Regions from separate parts of the Homo sapiens genome. Here all the other regions are linked to region 2. The links are contacts of gene promoters, found by promoter capture Hi-C in blood cells and fetal thymus (Javierre and others, 2016). All regions are on one chromosome and are shown on one strand. The core of a region is centred on a gene start or on the middle of the fragment in contact, and the rest is flanking DNA. Distances in the headings are between cores, read along the strand shown. Region 1 overlaps LOC107984674 (a long non-coding RNA gene). Region 2 holds the start of FBXO33 (F-box protein 33). Region 3 holds the start of DTD2 (D-aminoacyl-tRNA deacylase 2). Region 4 overlaps MIS18BP1 (MIS18 binding protein 1). Region 5 holds the start of G2E3 (G2/M-phase specific E3 ubiquitin protein ligase). Region 6 overlaps G2E3 (G2/M-phase specific E3 ubiquitin protein ligase). Region 7 overlaps FANCM (FA complementation group M).

Evidence for each region. The method cuts DNA at HindIII sites, captures the fragments that hold promoters and counts their contacts. A CHiCAGO score of 5 or more calls a contact.
Region 1: a contact is called between a fragment that was not itself captured here and the fragment with the promoter of FBXO33 in region 2, in 12 of 17 cell types (non-activated CD4 T cells, naive CD8 T cells, monocytes and 9 more). The highest score is 30.6, in non-activated CD4 T cells.
Region 3: a contact is called between a fragment that was not itself captured here and the fragment with the promoter of FBXO33 in region 2, in 1 of 17 cell types (non-activated CD4 T cells). The highest score is 6.2, in non-activated CD4 T cells.
Region 4: a contact is called between a fragment that was not itself captured here and the fragment with the promoter of FBXO33 in region 2, in 7 of 17 cell types (non-activated CD4 T cells, total CD4 T cells, M0 macrophages and 4 more). The highest score is 16.0, in non-activated CD4 T cells.
Region 5: the fragment with the promoter of G2E3 here is called in contact with the fragment with the promoter of FBXO33 in region 2 in 1 of 17 cell types (non-activated CD4 T cells); the score reaches 5.8 in non-activated CD4 T cells.
Region 6: a fragment that was not itself captured here is called in contact with the fragment with the promoter of FBXO33 in region 2 in 1 of 17 cell types (total B cells); the score reaches 7.1 in total B cells.
Region 7: a contact is called between a fragment that was not itself captured here and the fragment with the promoter of FBXO33 in region 2, in 10 of 17 cell types (total CD4 T cells, non-activated CD4 T cells, total B cells and 7 more). The highest score is 16.7, in total CD4 T cells.

The regions. Positions count from the first base shown.
Region 1 is chr14:45,262,063-45,265,559 of GRCh38, forward strand. All of the region lies in intron 2 of LOC107984674 (a long non-coding RNA gene), which reads left to right. Among named protein-coding and RNA genes, the nearest start is that of MIS18BP1, 11 kb to the left of the region's middle. The HindIII fragment of the contact is 4,164 bases long and covers 1-3,497 here.
Region 2 is chr14:39,430,219-39,433,811 of GRCh38, forward strand. FBXO33 (F-box protein 33) reads right to left here and starts at 2,215. Exons shown (of 4, transcript NM_203301.4): 1 at 1,346-2,215. The coding sequence starts at 1,944. It overlaps LOC105370461 (a long non-coding RNA gene), which reads left to right and starts at 2,221. Exons shown (of 8, transcript XR_007064121.1): 1 at 2,221-2,301. RefSeq lists silencers at 1,204-1,333, 1,774-1,903, 2,644-2,813 and an enhancer at 2,004-2,253. The HindIII fragment of the contact is 7,836 bases long and covers 1-3,593 here.
Region 3 is chr14:31,456,703-31,460,379 of GRCh38, forward strand. DTD2 (D-aminoacyl-tRNA deacylase 2) reads right to left here and starts at 804. Exons shown (of 3, transcript NM_080664.3): 1 at 581-804. The coding sequence starts at 691. RefSeq lists enhancers at 1-408, 409-994, 439-648, 789-968. The HindIII fragment of the contact is 1,929 bases long and covers 1,019-2,947 here.
Region 4 is chr14:45,237,083-45,240,694 of GRCh38, forward strand. It overlaps MIS18BP1 (MIS18 binding protein 1), which reads right to left. Exons shown (of 17, transcript NM_018353.5): 5 at 566-639. Among named protein-coding and RNA genes, the nearest start is that of MIS18BP1, 14 kb to the right of the region's middle. The HindIII fragment of the contact is 5,284 bases long and covers 1-3,612 here.
Region 5 is chr14:30,557,071-30,560,778 of GRCh38, forward strand. It overlaps G2E3 (G2/M-phase specific E3 ubiquitin protein ligase), which reads left to right and starts at 2,088. Exons shown (of 15, transcript NM_017769.5): 1 at 2,088-2,202. G2E3-AS1 (G2E3 antisense RNA 1) reads right to left here. Exons shown (of 4, transcript NR_151720.1): 3 at 3,667-3,708. RefSeq lists an enhancer at 1,754-1,943. The HindIII fragment of the contact is 9,808 bases long and covers 1,354-3,708 here.
Region 6 is chr14:30,610,031-30,613,893 of GRCh38, forward strand. It overlaps G2E3 (G2/M-phase specific E3 ubiquitin protein ligase), which reads left to right. Exons shown (of 15, transcript NM_017769.5): 13 at 2,177-2,349. Among named protein-coding and RNA genes, the nearest start is that of SCFD1, 10 kb to the right of the region's middle. The HindIII fragment of the contact is 2,378 bases long and covers 1,072-3,449 here.
Region 7 is chr14:45,141,025-45,144,984 of GRCh38, forward strand. All of the region lies in intron 3 of FANCM (FA complementation group M), which reads left to right. Among named protein-coding and RNA genes, the nearest start is that of FANCM, 7.1 kb to the left of the region's middle. RefSeq lists an enhancer at 3,830-3,889. The HindIII fragment of the contact is 3,787 bases long and covers 1-3,514 here.

The DNA of each region.
Region 1 (3,497 bases), core at 335-2,834, 5.8 Mb after region 2:
GTGAGCCACCATGTGTGGCCTGAAATTATATTCTTAGTAACTATTGTCATCCTACAGTGATATAGAAAACTAGAACTTCTTATTCTTATCTAGCTGTAATTTTATAACCTTTAACAAATCTCTCCTTATCCCTCCCTTCTCCCTATCATTCCCAGCCTCTAGTATCCTGTATTCTACTTTTTACTTCTATGAGATGAAATTTTTTAGCTTCCACATATAAGTGAGAACGTGTGATGTTTAATGTTTTGTTCCTGGCTTATTTTTCTTAACATAATGTCCTCCAGCTCCATCTATGTTGTTGCAAATGACAAGATTTCATTCTTTTTTTATAGTTTAATAGTATTCCATTTGTATATACCACATTTTCTTTATCCATTCATTTGTTGTTGAACCCCAGGTGGATTCTAAATCTTGGCTATTGTGAATAATGCTGTAACAAACATGCAAGTACAGTTGTCTCTTAGATATACTAATTTCCTTTCATTTGGATAAATGCCCAATAGTGGGACTGCTGGATTATATGGTACTTCTGTTTGTAGTTGTTTTAGGAACCTCCATCGTATTTTCAATAGTGGCTCTACTGGTTTACATTTCCACAAACAGTGTTTTAAGAGTTCCCTTTCCTCCACATCCATGCCAGAATCTGCTTTTTTTTGTCTTTTTGATGATAGCCGTTCTAACTGGGGTGAAATAAAACCTCATTGTGCTTTTTATTTGCATTTCCCTGATGATTAGTGATGTTGGGCATTTTGTCATGTGTTTCTTGGCGCGCTCTCTCTCTCTCTCTCTCTCTCTCTCTCTTTCTCTCTCACTCTTGCTCTTGCTCTGTTGCCCAGGCTGGAGTGCAGTTGCACAATCTCAGCACACTGCAGCCTCCACCTCCCAGGTTCAAACAATTATCCTGCCTCAGCCTCCCAAGTGGCTGGGACTACAGGTGAGTGTCACTATGCTCGGCTAATTTTTGTATTTTTTCCTAGAAGAGACTGGGTTTCACCATGTTGGCCAGGCTGGTTTTGAACTCCTGGCTTCAAGTGATCCACCTGCCTTGGCCTCCCAAAGTGCTGGATTACAGGTGTGAGCCACCGTGCCCAGCCTGCCATTTTTATATATCTTTTAAGAAATGTCTGTTCAGATCATTTACTCATTTGAAAATCAGATTGTATTTTTGTGCTATTGAGGTGTTTGAGTTCCTTGTATATTCTGGATATTAATCACTTGTCACATGAGTTATTTGCAAATATTTTCTCTCATTTTCTGGTTTGTCTTTTCATTCTGTTGATTGCTTTTTAGTTATATATAATCTCATGTATTTATTTTTGCTTTTATTGCCTGTACTTTTGAGGGCTTATAAAATTTTCCCAGACCAATATTCTGAAGCAGTTCACCTATGTTTTCTTCTAGTAGTTTTATATTTTCAGGTCTTCCATTTATGTATTTGATCCATTTTGAGTAGATTTTTGTATAGGGTGAGAGATGAAGTCTAGTTTTATTCTTCTGCATATGGAGATGCAGTTTTCCCAAGACCATATATTGAAGAGACCATCCTTTCTCCCAATGAGTGTTCTTGGCATCTGTGTCAAAGATTAGTTGATTGTAGATTGTAGATATGTGAATTAATTTCTGGGTTCTCTATTCTGTTCCATTGGTCTATGTGTCTGTTTTTATGCCAGTACCATGCTGTTTTGGTTATTACAGCTTTGTAGTATATTTTACAGTCTGGTAGTGTGAAACCTCCAACTTTGTGCTCAGGATTGCTTTGTTTTTTGTGGTTCTATACAAATTTTAGGATTTTTTTTCTATTTCTGTGAAGAATGTCATTGATATTTTGATGGAATCTGCAGATTGCTTTAGATAGTAAGTTGCTCCTTTTTTTTTTTTTTTTTTTTTGAGACACAGTCTCACTCTGTCACCCAGGCTGGAGTGCGTTGGCACAATCATGGATCACTGCAGCCTTGACCTCGCAGTATAAGTTAACCCCCCGACCTCAGCTTCCTAAGTAACTGGGATGATAGACATGTGCCACAGTGCCTGGCTAGTTTTTGTATTTTATTTTGGTAGAGACAGAGTTTTGCCATGTTGTCCGGGCTGGTCTGGAACTCCCAGCCTCAAGTGGTCTGCCCACTTTCTTGGTTCAGCATTTTCTTGGTTGCTGTAGACCTTTGGCTATTCTCCAGAGCTATCTTGACTCACTACAACCTCCGCCTCCTGGGTTCAAGTGATTCTCGTGCTTCAGCCACTCAAGTAGCTGGTACTACAGGTGTGCACCACCATGCCCAGCTAATTTTTGTATTTTTAGTAGAGACAGGGTTTTGCCATGTTGCCCAGGCTGGTCTCAGACTTCTGGCCTCAAGTCTCCCCCACCTTGGCCTTACAAAGTGCTGGAATTGCAGGCATGAACCACCATGCCCAGCCCTAATCATTTTTTTTTTTATCTCTAATATTGCCATTTAAAGAAAGTTGTATAAGCAAAATCATTATACCTGTAACCTTTTGAGATTGGCGCTTTTTCCCCCCACTTAGTATAATGCCCTTGTATCCAAGTTGTGTGTATCAATAGTTTTGATAGTTTCCTTTTATTGACAGATATACCCACAATTTGTTTAACCATTCATCTATTGATGGGCATTTTGATTATTTCCAGTTTTTTTTTTGCTATTACAAATATAACTGTTATGAAAAATCATAAGATTTTATGTGGACTTAAGTTTCACTTCTCTGGGATAAATGCCCAGGATGGCAATTTCTGGGTAACGTGAGAAGTATTTAGTGTTTTAAAAAAACTGTTAAATTATTTTCCAGAGTGGCTGTACCATTTTGCATTCCTACCAGCAGCAGTATGTGAGTGATCCAGGTTGTTCACATTCTCACCAACATTTGAGTTTTAGAATGATCACTTTGACAGTGTGTGGAGAATTGATTAGAAGTGGATGGCATTCTAGATGAGAATTCTGTCTCAGAAATTTTTGTAGTTGTTATGGTGAGACATGATGAGGGCCTAACCCAAACTCTGAAAGTGGGGATGGGCAGATTGGAGAGAAGTTAAGGGAATGAGTTGACGGAATTAAATGATCAATTTGATGTAGGACTTGGAAGAGAGAAATTTTTAAAGAAAGCCTTCTTGTTTCTGATTTGGGCATTTTGGTGGATAATGGTACCATTTAGAGAAGTAGATAATACTGGAAGAAGGGTTTGTCGGGGGTTGAGAAGATATGTTTAGTTTTAGGCTTGATCATTTTGAATTTACTTTGTAATCCAAGAGGGACCGACCAGTAGGCAGCATGCTACATAGGTCTGAAAATAGCGTAGTCATTAAGGGAATGGATTTTAGAGTCATTTGAGACGGAGTCATTAAGGGATTCCAAATCTGAGTTCTTTCTCTTACTCTCTGTATATCTATTGGCTAGTTACTTTACCTCCATTTTCTCATTAAATGAGATGGAATCATTGTGAGGCTTAAATAAGGCAACATGTATAAAACACTTAGCACATGTTAGGTA
Region 2 (3,593 bases), core at 965-3,464:
TGCCAGATAAAACCAAAGTAAGGAAATAGAATGTCTTGCGAAAAGCTGTGGAAACGCACAGGCAACTGGAATAATGGAGCCATATCCCAGATACAACTTGGAGCTATAACTTATCTCTTGACTTCTAAATTAAGACACAGATTAATGGCGCATACATATATATATATAACCTTATATCTATATATATCTCCTAGCATTAAACCAGGGACTGCTCTCAACCTTGTTCAACATAATGTTCAGTATATTTACTGCAAAAGGACACGCTTTCGGAGAAAAACAATGCCGTACAGCAATGTGCAAATCACTTGATCCTATAAAGGGTCAGTTTCCTTTCTGTAAAACAGGGTTATTTATCATTACCCTGCCTCATAGTGCCACTGAGAGGCTCAAACAACACAGTGAATGTGAAACTGCTGAAGTATTTTTACTATGTAAGGTGCTCCTTTTGTGAACGTCTAAACTTTCTTCTAATAAGAGCTTTACTGTAAGGTTCTTTAGAATATCCATATAAAGAAGATCTAAATTAATAGGGTTTTGGAGGTGGCGATGGAGAAAAATGATGATTGGGAGGGATACTGGGTCAGAATATAAGGCGTTAGTTCTGGAATTACAGTGAAGTCCTGATGCAAAACCAGAACAGTTATGTGCTTACCCTCTGCAGACCCTGGCCAACTCCCTCGCTGCCCGCCCGCCTCCTCCGCCCGACTGTTACTTTTAGGTGAACTACTGGGGAGAAGTTGAGTGTGGTGGTGTATGGGGAGGGACTTTCAACCCTGAAGATCAACTTCTTCCCCAATCCCTTTAACAAACACTCCTCCTCCTCTTCGGGCCTTGTTCAGTTAGCCGAAACTATTTCTGGTAAGAAAATGGCTGTTACAAAATTTCTTTTAGGCAGCGTCCTATGAGTACCTACTCCTTCCCTCACCATGAACTATTTCTAACAGATTCAGAGTCAGAAAATCGTGTTATGTGTATGTTTTGTTTCTTCCAAGGCTCACCCACAGGCCTCACCCTCCCAGTCTTAACGCTCCCATATATAAAATGAAAAGTGACAGCGCCTGTCAGCTCCATCCCACGGCCACCAAGAGGATGAATGAGTGCCTGGAAGGCGCCAGAAGTGGTGTCTGTTAAACACCCCGTCCACCACTGTTTATAAAGTATCGTGATGAGTCCCGTTATGCCTTTCCGCTCAAGGAAACCGCCTAGTTAGAACCAACACTCTCCGTCACTGAGGAAGGCAACACTGAAGTTGGCCGGGCACGTATTATGCACAGAATCTGTGTCGGGGTGCGGGGACGGAGCGACCCCCCGTTACCGGGCGGGGCGGGGCTCAGGGCAAGCCTACCTGTTGTTCCGGATGCTGACCAGCACGCAAAGCACCAGCTCCAAGTAGGTGCGCAGCACTTCCAGCCAACGAGCTGAGAGCTGCAGGGCCTCGACTTCCTCCCCTCCAGTCCCGGTGTCCGCGCCACCTCCGTCCCCTGGGCCACCGCCGCTCAGATAGTTCTCGGCGGCGAATTCAACACGCAGCTCTCGCACGAACCAGCCGCACTTGCGCATGAGGAATTCCAGCCGAGGCTGCTCCGCGGGCGAGACGCGGAGGCAGATGCGGAGCTGGGGCCACAGGGCCGGATAGAAGAGGCACTCACGCCAGTGCGAGCAGGAGGCCGAGGCCCGCAGCCGGTCGGGCGCCGGCAGAAAAGAGAAGATGTGCACGATCAGCTCGCTGGGCAGCGACGCAGCGCCCGCCGCCTGCCCGCACAGAGCCATCCGGCCCCGCCGCCGGCTGCCGGCTCCCGGCCGCCCCCGCAGTACCCGGAGCAGCCCCCGCAGCCGTCGCAGCTGCTGCAGCCGCAGCCGCCGCCACCGCGCCACCCGGGCGGCCCCGGCTCGGGTTCGAGCTCCCGGCGGTCGGGGCTGCGGCACTGACAAGAACAACAACATCAATGACTAGGAAGAAGGGGGCGGAACCGTCGTGGGTCTCGGCGGAACCAAGTAGAACACAAGTTGTGGAGAGGGGGAAAGGCCTCTGCGGGCGTGGCCTGCCGGGAGCCAGCCTCTGTCTTCTCAAACTCTACTCACGTGCGTCCGAGGCCGGCACACTGAGTAACTGCACTGCCCTCGCTCGTAAACTTCAGCGGCCCGGAAGCCTCAAGGCGTACTGTAAGGAAAAGGCAGCCCTCCCTGCGCCGGTCGGCAGAGACAGAGAAGTGGTAGGAGCTGAGTTTGACGTCGCCGCTGGTGGGAGGAGTCCGGCGCGCACCGGCGCGACTTCCGGAAGAGGGGAGCGCCCGATTGCCTGTAGGGACGGGAGGCGCGGCACGTGATCTCTGACGCACGCAGGCCGCGGGGCGGGGCGGGGCTGGGCGGGGCGGGGCGGGGCGGGGCTGGGCGGGACTGGAACCGGCACTTGGCACCCCTTACGCCTTACGGTGGCCGCTGCGCCCAGTCACATCTGTAAGTCGGTTAATTTTGGCGCTCGGTCGATGGAGGTGGCGGTACTCTGGTTTAGTGCGAAAGGTCGTCACGCTTCTTTGTAAAACGTTTCTCAGTTTGGGCTGAGGACCCTGAGCCAAAGTGGCGGCATGCAGGGTCTTTCTCAGCCATCCCACCTGCCCAGAGTAGGGTTAAGAATTCCTGAGATTGCGCCGCTGAGAGGGAGCTGGCGGACGGGCGGGCTAACCCCGGCGGGCTGTGCCGGGAGGGGCGGTGTGGGGCGTGGCGGAGGCCGCGAATGGACCTGCCCCCTCGGTCCAACCACGCAGGTGGACTTCCGCGCACTCGCTGGTGTGTGGGGAAGCAGTGAGGACAGCGTCACCCTTTGGATTCAGAGGGAGAGAAAAAAATTGGCAAAGGGATCTGAGATCCGCAGGTTGTGACCAGCCTCTTCTCCAGGGCTTGAGGAAGGGTCTCTTTTCCCTGTGCTGAGATTTAAGGCTCTCGTTGAAAAGTTCACAGTAATGACAGAGCTTTGATTTTTTTTCTTTCTTCTTCTTCTTTTTTTGCCTGGTATCCCTAACTTAGATTTTCCAAACCATGTCCCTAACTTCACCACAGCCTACTGCAAAGTAAACTCTGGTTGCAAAGAGTGGTGAAGTCAGAAAAGATTAAGTGACTTTATGTAATAATCGAGGGTTGCTTTAGGGAGGCTGCCTCTTTATGTAATAATTGAGAGTTGCTTTAGGGAGGCTGTGATGTTGGAATAGCATCGTTCTTTTGTGGTAAACACCAAGACTTTTTGGACTTTTTTTTTTTTTTTTGGTTTTAAGGAGCGGAGAATTTAATAGGCAAGAAAGAAGGAAGAAGGCTGAAGGAAGAAGCTCCCCACTACAGAGACAGACGGAGGGGGCTCCCAAGACGAAAGAGGAGACCCCCATTCTAGATGTTCTTAACCCTTTGAGGGCAAAGCTCTCCGTTTAATGCCTTGCACATATCAGGTTGCCAACAACATGGTGTGGTTTATCAATTGTGATAGGTTACTTATTCGAGCCCCTGTTTACAAGAGTTTTAGGTAATTATACCTTATTAATTTTAATGAACTCTTAGAGGGCGACCCCAGTCGTGGGTTCGGCAGGATGAAACACTACCCATTT
Region 3 (3,677 bases), core at 733-3,232, 8.0 Mb before region 2:
ATAAATGTTTTAAATTCTTTGGAGAAATGTGTTTGATAAGGCAACATTGTTATAAAAGTAGAGGTCTTTGTTTCTCAGTTGGAAATTGGTCAAAACTTTTAAAAGGCTTCTTGAAATAGAATTGTTTCTTAGGAAATCTCATTTCTATGCTAAGACCAAGTCAACATAGGGGGGAATTCGACGCGATCTGAGGCGTAAGTCAAAGCAGATCATGAACTCTTGCAGCAAACCTGACCTACAAGCTTGCCCCCGACCAGCATAGACCACGAGCTGCAAGGGGTCTGAGACAGTAAGGCCTGAAGTTCACCGAACTCAGTTTCAAATACCTGTGGTCCCCCCAAGAAGGGAGACACGCTCTTCCTCTCGGGTGCTACAACTGGCGCTGGGGAACGGTGATGCTGGACCGAAAAGACAAGCGCAGCCAGGCAGGCCACCGCGGCCAGCTTCAAGCTGACCCGGTATCCCCGCGGCCGGACCGCCGGTCTCAGAGGGAGACACAGAGCGGACGAGTCACCGAGACAACGCGGAAAAAACCGCCCCGCACGCCGGAGGATAACGAGAGCTGCCGGGCTGACGTTACCTCCACCCACTGGGCCGCGACGTCCCCATCGGCTGGGCGAATTTGCAGCCGGGCGTGCAGGCACTGCTGTAGGAGCGCCCGGGCCTGAGGAATCCGGCTACCCTCAGCCATGGCTTAAGCCAGCGCCGCGGCCGGACAGTTACTAGGCCATGTGTCGCTGGCCCCTCCCTCGACGCGCTGGCGGGGCAGACGAGGCGGGGCACGACGAAGGGCCTGCGCCGATTGCCCAGTGGCCCCGCCCTTAGGAGGGCGGGGCCTCGGACTGACTCTCGAATGTCCCGGATGTGCGGTCTTGGAGGCCGGCGTAGCGCTAAGCTTCTCGGCAGCACCTGCCCAACTCTGTAGAAGGCGCTCAGTGTATACTTTTATTAAACGATTGAAAAGACTCGTTAAATCTCTTTCCTACAAACCTTTTAAGAAACATTTTTCACCTCAGAAAGCTTAGGTTCCAACTGTTGAAAAATTTTAAATCTGCTTGATTTAAATTCATGTTATGCCCATATGAAAGTAAGTAAACAAATAATCGAATCATAAAGCAAGCGGAGATGGAACTAAAAGCTATATATACATCCTTCAAAATTTTCCTTATTCCAATCAATAAAAACAATGCTGCCTCCTCTATCGGGAATGCCATAAATTATTCTGATTCCACAGTTGTGAAAAGGTATTGGTATGCTATACGAATACACATTCTTTAGAAGATATCCTTGTTAAAAATGTTCTTATCCAAGAAAGTATGATTGTTAATAACTTAGCCCGCTACTAATACAAAAATAAAACAGCTTATTCTGATGCATATGACGTAAATTCTGTGATGCATTTTCTGGAAGTACATATTAGAATGTAAATAAAACTAAACAAGGGCTTGATTTTCTTTCCCATGTAACGTATTCCTTAAACATGCATCAGATTAGCATTTATTTGTCTATGGGCTTGGATGGTTTAGATGAGGAATAATAGTGTTACCCTGATTGCATTACCCAGGTCATTGATTTGGGCTCAGTTGACACAATGTGCCTATACATTCGGATCTGTTGTTTAAAAAGATGACATCACTGACAGTGTTGCTATCCATACAAAGTAGTGTGACTGAAGAAAATAGTCCATGCATAATCAACAGTCCTTTGTACACAAAATCGAAGCTGCTTGTTTGCTGGTTATCTTGCAGCCAGGTTTACACTTTTAGTAAAAACAGAAAGCAAAATCTCACATGATCTCTGATTGTTGCATTGCAGGGATTCCAACAGTTGTTGACATTTGTCTGCAAAGCACAGACAAGTTGAATTGCTTCATGTCTGCACCTTTATGTCATTATAACTACTGAGTCTCTTTTCTCTCCGGCTCTCAGATTCAGATTTTACAGGCCTGAAAGAAACTTTGACATACAAACCATTAGCTATGTCCCAGAATAAGAAAAGACTTTGGTGTCCATTTGTATGTGGCTGCAGGAAATAGGGAGGTCTATAGAGAATAGGTTATGTGGTTCGCAGAGATCTTTCTACAGAGAGGGTTTCTTTAACAAATTGGGAAACCCTTCCTGTGAGTAGAATAGATGGAGTATGGATGGTAATGGTTAGCTTCTCAAAAATCACTAATTACTTTAAACCCTCCTATTGAGTGAGGATCTCGTGGACATTGCTGTAGGTACTGTAATAGGCTGTGGCTCACTTATTTTTTACTTCTATTTGCAGAAGGCTATAGAGAGTGGCCACCAAAGACAGCATTTCCTTTCTGTATTTTATTTTTTGAACACTTAGTTTCATTCTGCAAATAATTTAAGAAGGAAGGACATGCATGCAATAAAATAGTAAAATGTGAATTAAAGCATTAGAAATAAAGAAACTAGAATTATGTCAGTAAGCCACAATGGGGGAAATTGAAAACAGGTAAGACAGTGGTTCTCAACTGGAGTGCTGAGATGATATAGTATGCAGCAAAATTTTCACAAATGTATAACTTTAATTTTTGTTATAAAACAATTATGTTCATTGTATGTAGTATTGAGGTGCTGTAGGTTGTACAATTTGTTTCAAGTTGGAACTAAAGGCAAAGCATAGCATTAAGTTGGCTTTACAAGAAGATGGTGGTTCACTGGAATGTGAGAGAGCTTTGCCTTGTCATTGTATGAGAAATCATTGAGCAGAGATAATTCTCAAACACCTACAATGCTGAAAGTGTACCATATGGATAGGGGATTAATTGTGGATGGGTTCTATGTCCTCTGAGATGGTACAATAACTAATTTAGTGTTATTTTACCTTCTTTAATTCATTTAAGTTGGCTGCCCTAAATTCTGGCATTCAAAGTATTTCACAAACATGAAAAGTTTGAGAACCATTTCTAAAAGATTCCTTAGAGTTGATGCTAAGCTTCCTGGTTGTAAATAGGAGAGGATAGGGAAGGGCAGTATAATCTATTTCATAGTTCTAGGGATAAGCAGAGCTTTTCCTCAGATTTAGCTCTCAGCTGAGCCTCTTACCTGAGACTTTATATAGGATATGTTAATAAATACAAGTGCAGGCCTGGCGAGGTGGCTGATGCCTGTAATCCCAGCACTTTGGGAGGCTGAGGTGGGTGGATCACGAGGTCAGGAGATGGAGACCATCCTGGCTAACACGGTGAAACCATTTTTAGTCTCTACTAAAAAATACAAAAAATTAGCCAGGCGTGGTGGCGGGCACCTGTAGTACCAGCTACTCGGGAGGCTGAGGCAGGAAAATGGCATGAACCCAGGAGGCAGAACTTGCAGTGAGCCGAGACTGCGCCACTGCACTCCAGCCTGGGCAACAGAGCGAGACTCCGTCTCAAAAAAAAACCAAAACAAAACAAAACAAAAAAAAACCAAAAAAAAACAAGTGCAACTGGAAGAGGTAGGTATCTTATCTTAGGGAAGACAGTATCTAGCCCTCTAGTTTAAAGCCCAGATATTTTTTTTTCTAGTTTAAAGCCCAGAGATTTATTTTTTTTTGAAAAAAAAAATAATAACCAGGTTCTGAGAAATTGGTTAACATTAACTAAAATGCACATTAGATTGGGGTAGAACCAGAATACTAATTTAGTCATTTACAACAAGAAATATTGCCATGACATGGAGTAG
Region 4 (3,612 bases), core at 565-3,064, 5.8 Mb after region 2:
ATTACAAATATTTGTAGCACTAAGAAACTGGTCTTGAAGAATAGGAAATGGTGCTAATAGAGTAGCAGAATTAGGTAAAGCCCACTTACCTGGTGATGCTCTCACTTTAGGGAGAACCAGAAAGTGCCAATGATTACTTAATATGTAGCCGTATGGCAAAGTTTTAAGTAATTTTGATTCCTTTTCTGGATCAGTAATTTATATCTGGTTGTCCCAATTTAGATGTGAGAATCTGGACTGAAATGCATGTAGTAAATATTAACTGATCATATATAATTAAGCAGATAATACCAGTCCACTTATTAGCACCTCAGAAAAAAATAAACCACTATACAAATTTGAACTGTCATTATTTTAAGAAAAACTTGAGTAAACATGCAAAAACAAGAAAGCTGGTAGCAATCAACATGGCTAGGACCTGCACAGTAATTTTACTTTTTTGCCTTCAGTTCATAACCTTGTTAGGTCTTTGCTTTGTGGAGGATGCTATTTCTCATGCATTAACTCTTAAGTGCTTACACATAACTAAAGTTTTATTAAAAGAATAATGAAATAGTATACTTACATCAATTTTCCTTCTACACATATAGCAGTATTATTATTGATGCTTTTAATCATCCATTCCTGTAGCTGAACTACCTAATCAAGTATAAAACAAAGAACATATTTCCTGTATTACTTGCAGCACAAGCATTACAAAATTAACTTACATTAAAAGAAAAAACTTGTCTAAGTAATCCAAATATTCCTTAGTGTCATCGATGTAAGATTCACATTCTATTCTAAATAGCAATAGGTAAAATTCTTGTATACAATGAAACAGAAAAGAAAAGACTGAATTCAGGTTGTATTGCATTTGTTCTACAATCAAGAAGCAATTATACTTCAAATACTCTATCACCAAATCTCAACTGGTGGGGACAAAAATCATGTAAAATCCCAAGGTACAGATTAAAACACCAAGTCCTGCAAAAAGCCCAGTAACTTGGAGTGAAAAGGAGTTAGCTATGTTTTGTCCTTAAAAAATTAAGAGTTTTTTTTTTTTTTTGTAAAGTTTAGACCTGTATTCCAATTTTCTACAAACTAAAAAGGTAACTGCTGGTAATCTAGATTTAACAGTATTTTATTCCAAAGTAAACATCTGAATAGCTCAGAGAACTCTTTATTATCTTACTACAAGTAAAATATCATTCTAATGGAAAACATTTTATGACAATCTATGCAAAGAAATTCTTGAATATAAATTTCATAAAATTTAAGATTGAACTACTTCTGATGAGAAAAAAAGTCAAAATTTATGGAATAATTTGAGTGGCAATTTACTTTATATGTAAAGTTACACATTTACAAATAAAAACAAATTCTCCAGTGGTAGTTTTATACTGAGTCAGGAAAAGACATTAAAATGGGACAGTCTTTGTTATGGCACATGTTGATTATGTTCATTTAAAAAATTATAGGTGATGGCTGAGGACAGTTGCTTAAACCTGTAATCCCAGAACTTTGGGAGGCCAAGTCGGGAGAACTGTTTGAGCCTAGGAGTTCAAGACCAGCCTGGGCAACATAGTAAGATTCCAAAAAAAAGTTTAAAAATTAGCTGGGTGTGGTGGTACACACCTGTAGTCCCAGCTACTGGAGAGGCAGAGGTGGGAGGATCACTTGAGCTTGGGAGGTCGAGGCTTCAGTGAGCCTCAACAGGTGATGGAACAAGACTCTGTCTCAAAAAGTAAATACATAAAAATAAAAAATTATAAGTAGGATAGTTTATAAGCCATGGGTCTCAGTAGTAATGGCGAGGGGATCCACCATCTTGTCTTACCCTCACCCAAGACACAAATATGGCTTCTGTTTTTAAGCCCCTTTTAAATGTTTCTTTCTGAAAAAAGTAAAAAATTATAGGTAGGACTTGGGGAAGTAACAGTAAATAATACTCTCTTTTTGCCTTCTCCCACATTTGGAACTACCTGAGATATATCAACGCACCAGTCAGATGGAGATAATAATCCTGTACCATACTATTATACTGCTTATATAAGATATCAAAATGTTCATTCATTATTCATTCAACAAATATTTGTTGAGTTCTACACACTGTTTTAGATAGTGGAGATTGAGTGAGAAAGTAAACAGCTGCCCCTCTTAGGGCCAACATTCTTGTGTGTGTGTTAGGGTTGGGGGTGGAGGCAAGCAGGATAATGGCATCTAAACCAATATGAAAATGTCAGGTGGTGGTAATTACTATGAAAAATAAATAAAAGGCATTAGATAAATGAGGTGCTTTTTAAGACAAAACAGTCAGGGAACGTCTTGGAAGAGAGAACTGAATAAAGTGAGCAATGAGTCACATGGATATCAGCAAAAAGATTCTTCTAAGCACAGAGAGTCAGCGCAGAGATCCAGGTAGGCAGCATGGAAGGCATAATTTGAAAGGAGTAAGTGAGAGGGAATAAGTGGTGAGGTTGGAGATCTCCAGGATTAACTAAGTACAGCTCGGTAAACCATGGTAAAGGCTTAGTGTTTTCTATTGAGATGACAAGTTACTGGGGATTCTGAACAGAACGACAAAATTTGATATTTTAAGGGACTGTTGGGTAGAGATGAGACTATATGAAGATTTTAGCTTGTCTGGAAAACAGACTGAAAAAGGAGAAAAGCAATACTGGAAGCAGGGAGACCACTAGGCTATGACAGTCATCCCTGGACTAGGAGGTAGTGGTTGAACAGTGAGAAGAGGCCGCATTCAGGAGAGTAGAGCCAATGGGATTTCTTCATGGTTTGGATGTGGAGCATGAGAGAGAAACAAGAGTCCAAGATGAATCTAAAATTTTGCCTAAATACTGGGGCCAATGGTATTACAATGTACTAATACAGGACAATGGAGAAGGTATGGTAAAGAAATCAAGAATAAGAATCTCACATTTTCTCACATTTTCAATTTGAGATGCCTATCTGATATCAATAGAAAAGTCATATAGACAACTGCACATGAGTGTGGAGTTGAGAAGAATTTTCTGTGCTGGAAACATATTGGAGAGCTATCAGCATAGAGATGGAATTTAAAACTATGACACTGGAAATACAGCCTAGAGAGTGCGTGTAGGTAGAAAAACAATTTCTAGGGCTGATCTGCAGTAATTCCAACATTTTTAGGACTGATTCTGGGGAAAGAAAGAGGAAATAGCAAAGAGGACTGAGAAGGGATGGGCAGCAATGTAGCAGAAAATCAGGAACGATCCTGGAATACAAAATATAAAGCGTAACACTTCTTTAGAAAGACATTTTGGGGCCAGGCGTGGTGGCTCACACCTGTAATCATTTCCTTTTACTTTAGGTGGTAAGGACATTGCCCTTTCAATTGCCCCCTCAATTTTCTCCCTACCTACACGCACTCTCTAGGCTGTATTTCCAGTGTCATAGTTTTAAATTCCATCTCTATGCTGATAGCTCTCCAATATGTTTCCAGCACAGAATATTCTTCTCAACTCCAACCATGAATACACAGACCTCTTTCAAATGTCTTGCTATATAAGGGAAACAAAAAGTAGTGTAGCAGCTGGAGTTGGACAGGGGATAAAGGAAAGATGGGCCTTTGTTTGCATGTTTTTAAAAAAT
Region 5 (3,708 bases), core at 838-3,337, 8.9 Mb before region 2:
TCTTTTGGGTGGCTTTTCCAGGGCATTTTTAACTTTTGTATACAGGTCAACTTGAGAATTTAATTCCTGTGAAGGATAAGAATGGTGGGAAGGTGCCAAGAATTATGAAAGACATAGGAAAATATATAACATAGTTTCTGCCTTCAAGAAACTTCAAGGAGCAATATATTTAACGGGGTCATATTAGATATGTAAACATAAAATAATACACTATATCATGAATGACAAAATGTGTGGTCAAATCATTATATGTAATTGTAGAAAGAACTGTTGAATGAATGAATGGACATAGACTATCCAAACATTAGAAATTTATACGCTCATTAAACCTGATTTTGTATCTAGAATGTATTCAATTTCTAGCAATCTTCCTTAAAGAACAAAATTGCAAAATTAAAAAAAAAGTTTATTATCTTAAAAATTCAACTGGTGATAAAGTGAAAGGTAAAAGTTCTCCATCTCTTCCTACTCTTATTTACCAGCCCGCTCCCAGAGATGTTTACAGCTTAGGTATCCATCCCAAAACTTTGTATACCATATACACACACATACTTTCAAACAAGGATACTACAGTCCTTCTTAAACTTTTTCAGTATTTCATTTCAGTACCCGCTGATCTACTTCATTACTTTTAGTGCCCGCAGCGTCAGTATATCAGATGCTAAAGTATCATAACTTACATGTATTTAACCCCTTCCTTATTTGTAGACACAGATTATTTTCTATCTTCCACTGTTAAAAACAGTACATCAGTTAATAGCTTTACACACCCCCTGTGTCAGATTACCTGTAGCATAGGTTCTCAGAAATCTAGTAAACCTTTCAAACTGTATTTTTTTTTTTTTTTTTTTTTTTTTTTTGAGACAGAGCCTCGCTCTGTCGCCCAGGCTGGAGTGCAGTGGCGCAATTTCTGCTCACTGCAAGCTCCGTCTCCCGGGTTCACACCATTCTCCTGCCTCAGCCTCCCGAGTAGCTGGGACTACAGGCGCCTGCCATCACGCCCAGCTAATTTTTTGTACATTTAGTAGAGACGGGGTTTCACCATGTTAGCCAGGATGGTCTCGATCTCCTGACCTCGTGATCCACCCGCCTCGGCCTACCAAAGTGCTGGGATTACAGGCGTGAGCCACCGCGCCCGGCCCTCAAACTGTATTTTTGACAAAGGCTAAAGGTATGCTGTCATGGTTTGGTTTGTACTGATCCGTTTAGGTAATTCAATGTTATTAGATGTGAGGATGATCTGGTGGCAACATCAATCACAGCCATAAAGGTCAGAGTTATTTAGCGCCCCTCACCCCCTAGCATTTCCAGTCCTTCCTTTAGTTTCTGGAAGCTCCCAGATGTCTCTTCAGAAGCTTAAGACGTTTTGGATCAAAGACATACTGTGGTCCTCGATAAAGGAAAAGATACTGTTGTTTCAATAATCTCACGGGACAATACTTAATAATCTCGTAAAGTGAGCCCTTATCTGAGGGGGGAAATAAAATTTATTGCCTTCTAACACCATCAAATAGTTTATTTGAGACCAGGAATTGGTCCGACCACTTATTTTCAACTTTTGGCTGAATACGGGTGAACTTGGCTTTTTGTTTTCCCTAAACCCAGGACAGAAATAAATTAAAAGCCCTGACTGTGCCGGGATAGGACTGAGAGGCCCAGGAAAGGCTGCACTAAGTACTTGGAGGGTTTGTTTTTTTCCTTCTTGCTGCTGCTGCTGTTTCCTCGAGGATGAAGGGAAAGATAAAACCCTCCTGCCTCCGTTCGTGCTTTCATTCGCCCCATTCCTCGAAGGTGACGAAACTTCAGCACATCTCTGTCCATTTTGGAAAAAAGAGGATCCCCTCAAGAGCAAATAGGCGGAAACAATGACCCCGCGCCCGGAGTTTTTCTGAGCTCCTAAATAGGGAGAGAGACCCGACAAAACAAACAAGCGAAGGCGACACAGCCAGGTTAGCACCGAGCAGCAGCGCAGGAGCGCCAGAAGGGCGGGAGCACACGGGCCCTTCCCCACAGCCAGCGCCTCCGCGGGTCCCACCCCTCGAGGGCGGGGCCGACCGCTCTTTCCGGGTTTGCGAGCGGAAGTGGACGAATTTGAATCCTGTGGGCCGTTGAATGTGGCTGCTCGCGGTCGGCGTGCCCCGACGTACAGCGGGCCGGGAAAAGTGGCACTGAGGCTCTGGAACTTCTGCCCAGCTCTCCTTGGTGAGTAAATGGGGAACGGGAAGACGCAGAACGTTCCAGAGAGAGAAGCAGGACCGTGGGGTGGGAGAGGGTGTCAGGAGGCCGGACGTCGCAGCCGGGGCCTCGCAGTGCTTTTGGGGACGTCTGGTGCTGGGGCCCGGCCTGGAGACTAAGGGAATTCGGGGCACTGGGGGCGTTTGCTGGACCAGCGCTCTCGACGGTTGCGCACGCCAGCCAGCTCTCAGTGTTGAGGATTCGGAGGCCCTGCCGGTCCCCCGCGAGTAAACCTTGTTTATACGCATCCTCCGTGGCTTTTTTTAAACCCGTAGTTTATTATTTCCACCAATTCGGCTCGAATGCTGAAATTTTAACAGTAGTTAAATCTCACTGTGAAGGCGTTGCCACGTTTAAACAAATCTCTTTTAATGAAAGATGGAAGGTTGGGGCGGGTTTAGAATGAAAAGATGCTCTACGTGGCTCCGCGTTCCTCCTGAGAGAGATACCCGGGCAACCTTGATTAACTCTGGACTGCAGGGAAGTGACAGTCTTTGAAATGCCTGAGTGGGATTTAAACTGAAATTCGAGTGTCCTTTGTATTTAAAACCCGGATATTTTTCTTTCACGGTTGACATTTTTCATGTACCGCAAAAATCCGAGACTCCTATTTAAACCGGCTGTGGTAACAGCGGTGGTGATTAACTAGGGTCTTAGTTTGCAAACAATAGGGATAAGGTTTAGTTCCACCGCCCTGCCTTTTCGCCTCCCTCATTCATTGGCCAACTGGGTTATTATGGAGTCTTTTTGGAAGTAATCCACTAATGCTTTGAGCATCTGTTTCTTTGGGTTTTATTGTTTTGGGCTTTTTTTTTTTTAATTTTTAATGATGAACTATCTGAAATATGGAACTCTGTCTAACCCAGTAGTAAAGTCATGCCTTCTGGAATGGTTTAAAAGTGTGCCATAAATGTAAACTATAAATGGGAACTTTAAATGTGTACAAGTTTTACATCTTTATTAAAAATCGTCAGTTTTGTGTAGCTTAATACGAAAAGATATTTTAAGTTCCTTTTAAGGTTTTAACACCAGGATATTGTACCATTTAAATGTATAAATATATTTTTAAAAGTAGGACTTCATAATAATCAGAATAAAAACATTCCTTCATCCAGTGCTGGCTATTCCAGCACCCCCATTCTTCCTGCTATTGAACTTTTAAGTGTTAGCCAGGAAGAATAGACTTAAATACTCGGTGTTTAGGATAGTTAAAATATGAGCATTTTTCATATAGTGTCTTTGTAACAGAGACATTGGCTATACTTCTCTAAGCCTTTCTGCTCATTTCATATGTGCTGTCAACAAATGGTAATTTTTAAAAATTGATCGCTATATCCTAATCTCTTTATTTTTTTCTACCTGAATTATTTTCATTGGATTTTTGCTCTTTCTTAAATCAGTGAGTTTCAGAATTTATTGTGTATACACTACCTTGAAGGATTTGTTCAACAATGCTGATTCCTGCACTTCAGA
Region 6 (3,863 bases), core at 1,011-3,510, 8.8 Mb before region 2:
AATCCCCCAGTGGCTTCTCATTGCCTGTTGAACGAAGTTGAAGCTCTTCATTAGGGCATTTAAGACCTTCACCTCTCTTCATGGCTTTATCTACTCCAGTTTCTGTACTTTTTATCCAGTGTTTGTTCATTTATTTAAGAAATACTATGTATTCTGTACTGTTTTGTTACTAAAGATAGAGTAGTGAAGCAAAGTATCTGCCTTCTTGGAATTTACATTAAGAGAGAACACAGAAGATAAACAACAAATGTAATATGCCATCACGTAGTAAAATGTATTATAATGCTAAATAAAACAGAATATGGCCGGGCGCAGTGGGTCACGCCTGTAATCCCAACACTTTGGGAGAACAGGTGGGTGGATCACCGGGGTCAGCAGTTCGAGACCAGCCTGGCCAACATGGTGAAACCCCATCTTTACTAAAAATACAAAAAAATTAGCCAGGTGTGGTGGCGCGCGCCTATAGTCCCAGCTGCTTGAAAGGCTCGCTTGAGCCCGGGAGGCAGAGGTGGCAGTGAGCCGGGATCATGCCACTGCACTCCAGCATGGGCAACAGAGTGAGACTCCATCCCAAATAAATAAATGTATACATAAATACATACATGCATACATACAACAGAATAAAAGGAGATGGATAAGGGTTGGAGTATATACAAGTTAGGTTTTAGGCTAAACTTCTGTATCTCATAGACCCAGAAAGACAGTGGCTCAAACAAGGCAGATGTTTACTGTTCTGTAAAATCCATTGTCTAGATTTTAGGGTAAGAGTTGGCAAAAAATGGCCTGTAAGTCACGTTCTGGCTTGTTGCCTGTTTGGTAAATAGTTACATTGGAATGCAGCCATGCCCATTTGCTACTGATCTGACTGCTTTCACGCTACAGTGGCAGAGTTGAGTAGCTGCAACAGATACCATATAGTTTGAAAAGCATAAAATGCTATCTGGCCCTTTATACAGATGGCCCTCTGTTTTCGAGATAGAGTTGTGATTTACAAAACCGTCTAAGGACTTGAGTTCCTTCCTCTCATTATCGTGTAACACTTAGCATTATTGTTTGCATCCACATGGTTGAAGCTTGCTCTTAAAGGAGAAAAGTGGAAGTTGAGAGCAGGGAAGTTTGACATGTTGTTTTTACTTACATCCCATTGAACAGTCATGTAGCCCCACCTAGCTGCAGCAAAAGTTTGGCTATGTGCCCAGCTGAAACTCAGGGTTGAGGGTTTGCAGGGATGAGGCAACATATACCCAATTATTACTCCGACAGGGTGTAAAGATAGTATTTTGAGCAGAATAGTCATGAAAAACTTAGGAGATTTCAGCAGAGATTTTGAATGAATGAAAAGAAGTCATGTAAATCTCTAAGAATGTTTTAGGAAAAGGAAATTGCAAGTAAATTTTCTGTTAATGGATTGTTTCCTATTTTTAACTTTCTCCATCTGTACCTTTAAGAGCTAACCTGTATGAAAGTGTCTTGCACATAAATGGCCAAGTATTTCTTTGTTTATGCTGTTCACTAAAATATTCTTGATAAAATTCTGTCCATCTTTTAATTCTCAGCTGTTACTCTTTTTCATGAATTCTCAGGTCATCTTTCTTGCCTATCTAGTACTAGGTAACTTTTCTCTTTTTTTTTCTTTTCTTTTTAAGAGATAAGGTCTCAGTCTGTCACCCAGGCTGGAGTACATTGGTGTGATCATAGCTCACTGAACCTCCAACTCCTGGGCTCAAAATCCTTCTACCTCATCTTCCAGAGTAGCTAGGACTACAGGTGTATACCACCCACACCAGGCCTTTTTTTTTTTTCTTTAGAGGGGGGCTAGCTGTGTTGCCCAGGATGTTCTTGAACTTCTGGCCTCAAGCAGGCCTCCCACCTCAGCCTCCCTAGTAGCTAGTCTTACCTAGTGCTATATAATTTTTCAATGTCAGTTATTTCCTTTTTTATAAATAGTTTCACGTAGTAAAGTGGCATTATACTCTGGATTTCTTGAAGGCAGAAATAGACAAATTTGTTGAACTGGATGATCAGACATTTATTCTAGAAGAATATTTCTTGGTTTACTTTTACTGCACCCATATGTACTAAGAAATTTGAGTATAAATTAACAAGTATCATTTGAAATGTGCATGTCACTCAAAAGTAAATGAGTAAAGTGGCTGTATTTTCTCCTTCATTACAGATAAATACTGCAACAACTGTAGCTGACTTAAAGTCAATAATAAATGAATGCTATAACTACCTTGAGTTAATTGGATGTCTCAGACTTATAACGACATTAAGTGATAAATATATGTTAGTAAAAGACATACTTGGCTACCATGTAATTCAGAGAGTCCACACACCCTTTGAAAGGTAAGTTGTTTCTATTAATATATGGCTCTTTCAAATTACATGTTTAAAGTGGTTAATTATCTTGTAATGTGAGATATATTTGGTAATAAGTGAGATGTTTTTCTCAGAAAAAAATTTAAATGCTATTTTTAAATAATAACTTAAGCCTTTTTAGGATGGTTACTGTTCTGATCATTTAATAAGCATTGTGTAGGTCGGGCATGGTGGCTCACTCACACCTGTAATCCCAGCACTTCGGGAGGCTGGGGCAGGCAGATCATTTGAGGTCAGGAGTTTGAGACCAGCCTGACCAACATGGTGAAACCCCGTCTGTACTAAAATACAAAAATTAGCCGGGCGTGGTGGTGGGTTCCTGTAATCTCAGCTACTTGGGAGGCTGAGGCAGGAGAATTGCTTGAACCCAAGAGGCGGAGGTTGCAGTGAGCTAAGATCATGCCACTGCACTCCAGCCTGGGTGACAGAGCAAGATTCCCTCTCAAAAAAATGAAAAAAGAATTGTGTAAATGTATGATGCTTTCATAGAAATAACCACTGCTTCAGATTATAATTTTTTTCTAAAAAATATTCTTTTTAAAACTCTTACCACATGAGCCAACTATTCTGTCTCTGTGCATTCATTTAATAACTATTTATTGAGTACCTTTTATCTGCTGGGTAATACATATATTGACCGTTCTTTGATTAACAAGGTATGTATGATTCCTGCTGTCCTTTAGTTTAGAACACTGGTCTAAGTTAGACAACTTATGTATCTCCTTACACTCTTACAATTTTTTTAAACAATGGAAATACACATATGAAAGTCTGTAATCACCATCCAGATCTAACACTTATTAACTTGTGCCTGTCTTGTTCATCTTTATCCTACCCTTGTTATTGACTCCAGTATTATTTTAAAGCCAATACCAGATATCATCTCAAACCTGATAAATTCATTTAAAAAAAAGTAGTATCATTAATCCATAGATTTAAATATATTTGATGTGTTTAAAATCTTTATAGTTACTATTACTACTGAAGTTTATATGTCTTGGACCAGTATAAGTCTCTTTATATTATTGTTTTTAATTCTTTCGATGTGAGCCTTAATGGTCTTTGTAAGCTTTTTTGCTATATGGTATCACAAGGTGTTTCAGACTCATTTTGTACATTTTAGCCTAAGGAACCTTTGTTATTTTTAATGGGAAATGGGTAATTCACAACCACAGTCTGGATGCTAGAGATTCTTAGTTTTGGTGGGTTGGTCATGGTATCTAGACCTTTTCATTGAACCCAAATTAGAAAATCAAGGGTTTTTAAATCTATTTTAATCTATTTTGTTTTTTTTTTTAAAATCAAACTTTTTTTTAAAGATACATTATGAGTGTGTCCTGATAATTCTAATTCAGATTCTCTATTGCATGATTTTTACTTAACATTTTCTTTGTCCTGTGTTGAGAATTCCAGTTCTTAATGACACTGGAGAATTTAAGTATGAAGCAACTATTTCATGTGATTTATTCCACATTTCATAA
Region 7 (3,960 bases), core at 371-2,870, 5.7 Mb after region 2:
AGACCCGTAATCCCAGCACTCTGGGAGGCCAAGGTGGGCGGATCACAAGGTCAGGAGATCCAGACCATCCTGGTTAACACGGTGAAACCCGGTGTCTACCAAAAATACAAAAAATTAACCGGGCGTGGTGGTGGGCACCTGTAGTCCCAGCTACTCAGGAGGCTGAGGCAGGAGAATGGCGTGAACTCGGGAGGCGGAGCTTGCAATGAGCCAAGATCTAGCCACTGCACTCCAGCCTGGGCGACAGAGCGAGGCTCCGTCTCAAAAAAAAAAAAAAAAAAAAAGAAAGCAAAAAACAAAAAACATAAATGAATAATCCAAATAATAAGAACTTTTATATGGGGCCAGATCAGTTTTCCATTTTGGTATTTATCTAGTTTAACATGAGAACTACAACATTTCCTACAACCTGCCTAGCTTTTTTTCAGTGGTTGCAGGACTCCCCTCCCCTCCCCTCCCCTCCCCTTTCTCCTCTGTTCTCCTCCCCCTCCCCTCCCCTTCCTCCTCCCTGTTCCCTTCCCCTTACCTTACGTTCCCCTCCTTTCCTCTCCTTTCCTTTCTTTCTTTCTCTTTTTTTTTTTTTTGACGGAGTTTTGCTCTTGTTACCCAGGCTGGAGTGGAATGGCATGACCTTGGCTCACTGCAACCTCCGCCTCCTGGATTCAAGCGATTCTCTTGCCTCACCCTCCCGAGTAGCTGGGATTACAGGCGTCCATCACCACGCCTGGCTAATTTTTGTATTTTTAGTAGACACGGGGTTTCACCATGTTGGCCAGCTGGTCTCCAACTCCTGACCTCAGGTGATCTGCCGGCCTCAGCCTCCCAAAGTGCTGGGATTTCAGGCGTGAGCTACTATGCCCAGCCCAGGAGTTTCTTTAAGTTAGTAGTTTTCAGACTGCAGTGTGCATAAGAATCCCTAAAACCTGTTAAAAATACAGGATATTTTTAAATAGTAAAATGATTTTTAAAAGTTGTTACTGTTTTCAGTTTTTTAAAGTTTTGTTTGGAAATAACTTTAGATTGCCAGAAAAATTGCAAAAATAGAAGTCTTCGTTTGGTCCTCTCCCGTCTTCCCCTAATGTTAACGTATCATATAACCATAATAAAATTATCAAAGCCAGAAAATTAGCATTGCTATACCAGTAACTAATCTGCAGATCTTGTCTGAATTTTGCCAGTTTTCCCACTGATGTACTTTTCTGCTCCAGGGTTCAGTCTGTGATCTCACATTGTGTTGTCATGGCTTCTTAGTCCCTTCTAATCTGTGATGGTTCCTCTTTTTTCTTTTTTTTTTTTTTTTGAGACGAAGTCTCGCACTGTTGCCCGGGCTGGAGTGCAATGGCATGATCTCGGCTCACTGCAACCTCCACCTCCCAGGTTCAAGCTATTCTCCTGCCTCAGCCTCCTGAGTAGCTGGGATTACAGTCACCCGCCACCATGCCCGGCTAATTTTTTGTATTTTTAGTAGAGACAAGGTTTCACTATGTTGGCCAGGCTGGTCTCGAGCTCCTGACCTCGTGATCCACCCGCCCCGGCCTCCCAAAGTGCTGGGATTACAGGTGTGAGCCACTGTGCCCGGCCGCTTCCTCTTTTTTCTTGTTTTCCATGACCTTGATGCTTTTGAAGTGTAGGTGCCAGATATTTTGTAGAATATCCCTCAATTTGGGTAAGTCTGATGTTTTCTCATGATGTGGTGACGTTATGCATTTGCTAACAATAATCCAGAAGTGATGCTGTACCTTTCTCAGCATATCCTATCAGGGAATAGATGATGTTGCTTTGCCTTTTTTACTTGTGTTGTAATCTTGACTTAGTTAAGATGATGTCTTCTTGGTTTCTTCATTGTAAAATTACTGTTATTCCCTTTGTAATTAATAACTGTCTTGTGGGGGAAATACTTTGAGACTATGTAAATAATCCTGTTTTAGCATCCAGTGGTGGTTCTTGGCTTGCAACAATTATTGTTGTGGTATTTGCCTAATCATTCTTTCTCTCTTTTATATGCATTAATTTGAATTCTTCTGCAATAAAGATTTTTTTTCCTTCTGTGGGCCACAGTCCAATACTATTTTATCAATTTTATTAAGATTGTTCCAGCTTTGTCTGTTAGGAGCTCCTTCAAGCTCCTGTGTCCTTTAGACATGCACTTTTTTTTTTTTTTTTTAAACAGGGTCTCACTGAGTCCTCCAGGCTGGAGGGCAGTGCACAATAATACTCACTGCAGCTAAATTTCCCAGGCTCAGGTGGTTCTCCCACGTCAGCCTCCTGAGGAGCTGGGACTACAGGTGCCTGCCACCACACCCAGCAAATTTTTGTATCTTTTGTAGAGACAGGGTCTCCCATTGTTGCCCAGGCTGGTCTAGAACTACTGGTCTCAAACTCCTGGGCTCAAGTGATCCACCTGTCTCAGCCTCTCAAAGTGCTGGGATTATTGGCATGAGCCACCATACCTTGCCACTCTTTCTTTTGATGCTTCTGTAACTTTCTGACATCATAAGATACATTATGCTCCTTTAGTATTTTTTCGGCCCAGCCATGGAATCAACAGTATGTCTGGGAAATTCTGGTTTCCTTTATTGAAGAATGGTAAAAATGCAGATTTTGAGACCTGTCCTATAATATTCTGATTTTAGTAGCTCTGAACGGTCTTCCATATTGAGTAAGGATTTTTTTTTTTTTTTTTTTTTGAGACAGAGTCTCGCTTTGTCACCCAGGCTGGAGTGCAGTGGCGCGATCTCGGCTCACTGCAACCTCTGCCTCCCGGGTTCAAGCCATTCTCCTGCCTCAGCCTCCTAAGCAGCTGGGATTACAGGTGCCCACCACCATGCTCAGCTAATTTTTGTATTTTTAGTGGAGACGGGGTTTCACCATGTTGGTCAGGCTGGTCTCGAACCCCTGACCTCGTGATCTACCCACCTCAGCCTCCCAAAGTGCTGGGATTACAGGCGTGAGCCACCACGCCCGGCTTGAGTAAGGATTTTATTGGATACATTCTGTGGCAGCCTTTTAAAACTTTTTTTTTTTATTTTTATGGGTACATAGTAGGTATATATATTTATGGTATATATGAGATATTTTGATACAGGCATGCAGTGCATAATAATCACATCAGGCTAATGGGGTATCCATCACCTTAAGCATTTATTCTTTTTGTTACAATCCAGTTATACTCTTTTAGTTATTTTAAAATGTAAACTTATTACTGACTATAGTCACCCTATTATGCTATCAAATATTAGATCTTATTTATTCTATTTTTTTGTACCCATTAATGTAGTGTCCCCTCCACCCCCCTCGCCCACTACCCTTCCCAGCCTCTGTAATCATCCTTCTACTCTCTATCTCTATGAGTTCAATTACTTTAATTTTTAGCTCCCACTAAAAAGTTAGAACGTGTGAAGTTTGTCAGCAAGTTCCTCCAGGCCCCGGGCAAGTCCAGAGATGCCATCTAGGAGCCAGAAACTAGAGTCAGAAACCTTAGAAATCTACCTTGTGCTCTATACTACTGCAGCTAAGCTTGCACTCAAAGCACAAGATGAAGTCCTTCTCACTCTTTCTTTCCACAGGCAGAGGAGCCTCTCCCCATGGTCACCACTACCATAGGCCCATGAGGTGTACTGCCAGTCTACTGCTGATTTTCATTTAAGGCCCAAGGACTCTTCAGTCAGCTTGTGCTGAATGCTGCCAGGCCTGGGACTCACCCTTCAGAGAAGTGGGTTCCCCTCTGGCCTGGGACAGTTTCAGAAATGCTGTTCAAGAGTCAAGGCCTGGAATCAGGTCCCCAAGAGCCCATTTGTTGCCCTTCCCCACTGTGGCTGAGCTGGTACCTGAGGTGTAAGACAAAGTCTCCTTTACTTCTGCTTTTCTCAAGCAGAAGTTTCTCATCATAGCCATCATTGCTAGAGATGTGCTGGGTTTCACTGGAAGCCAGCATGTCTAAGAGTCTCACCCAAGGCCCAT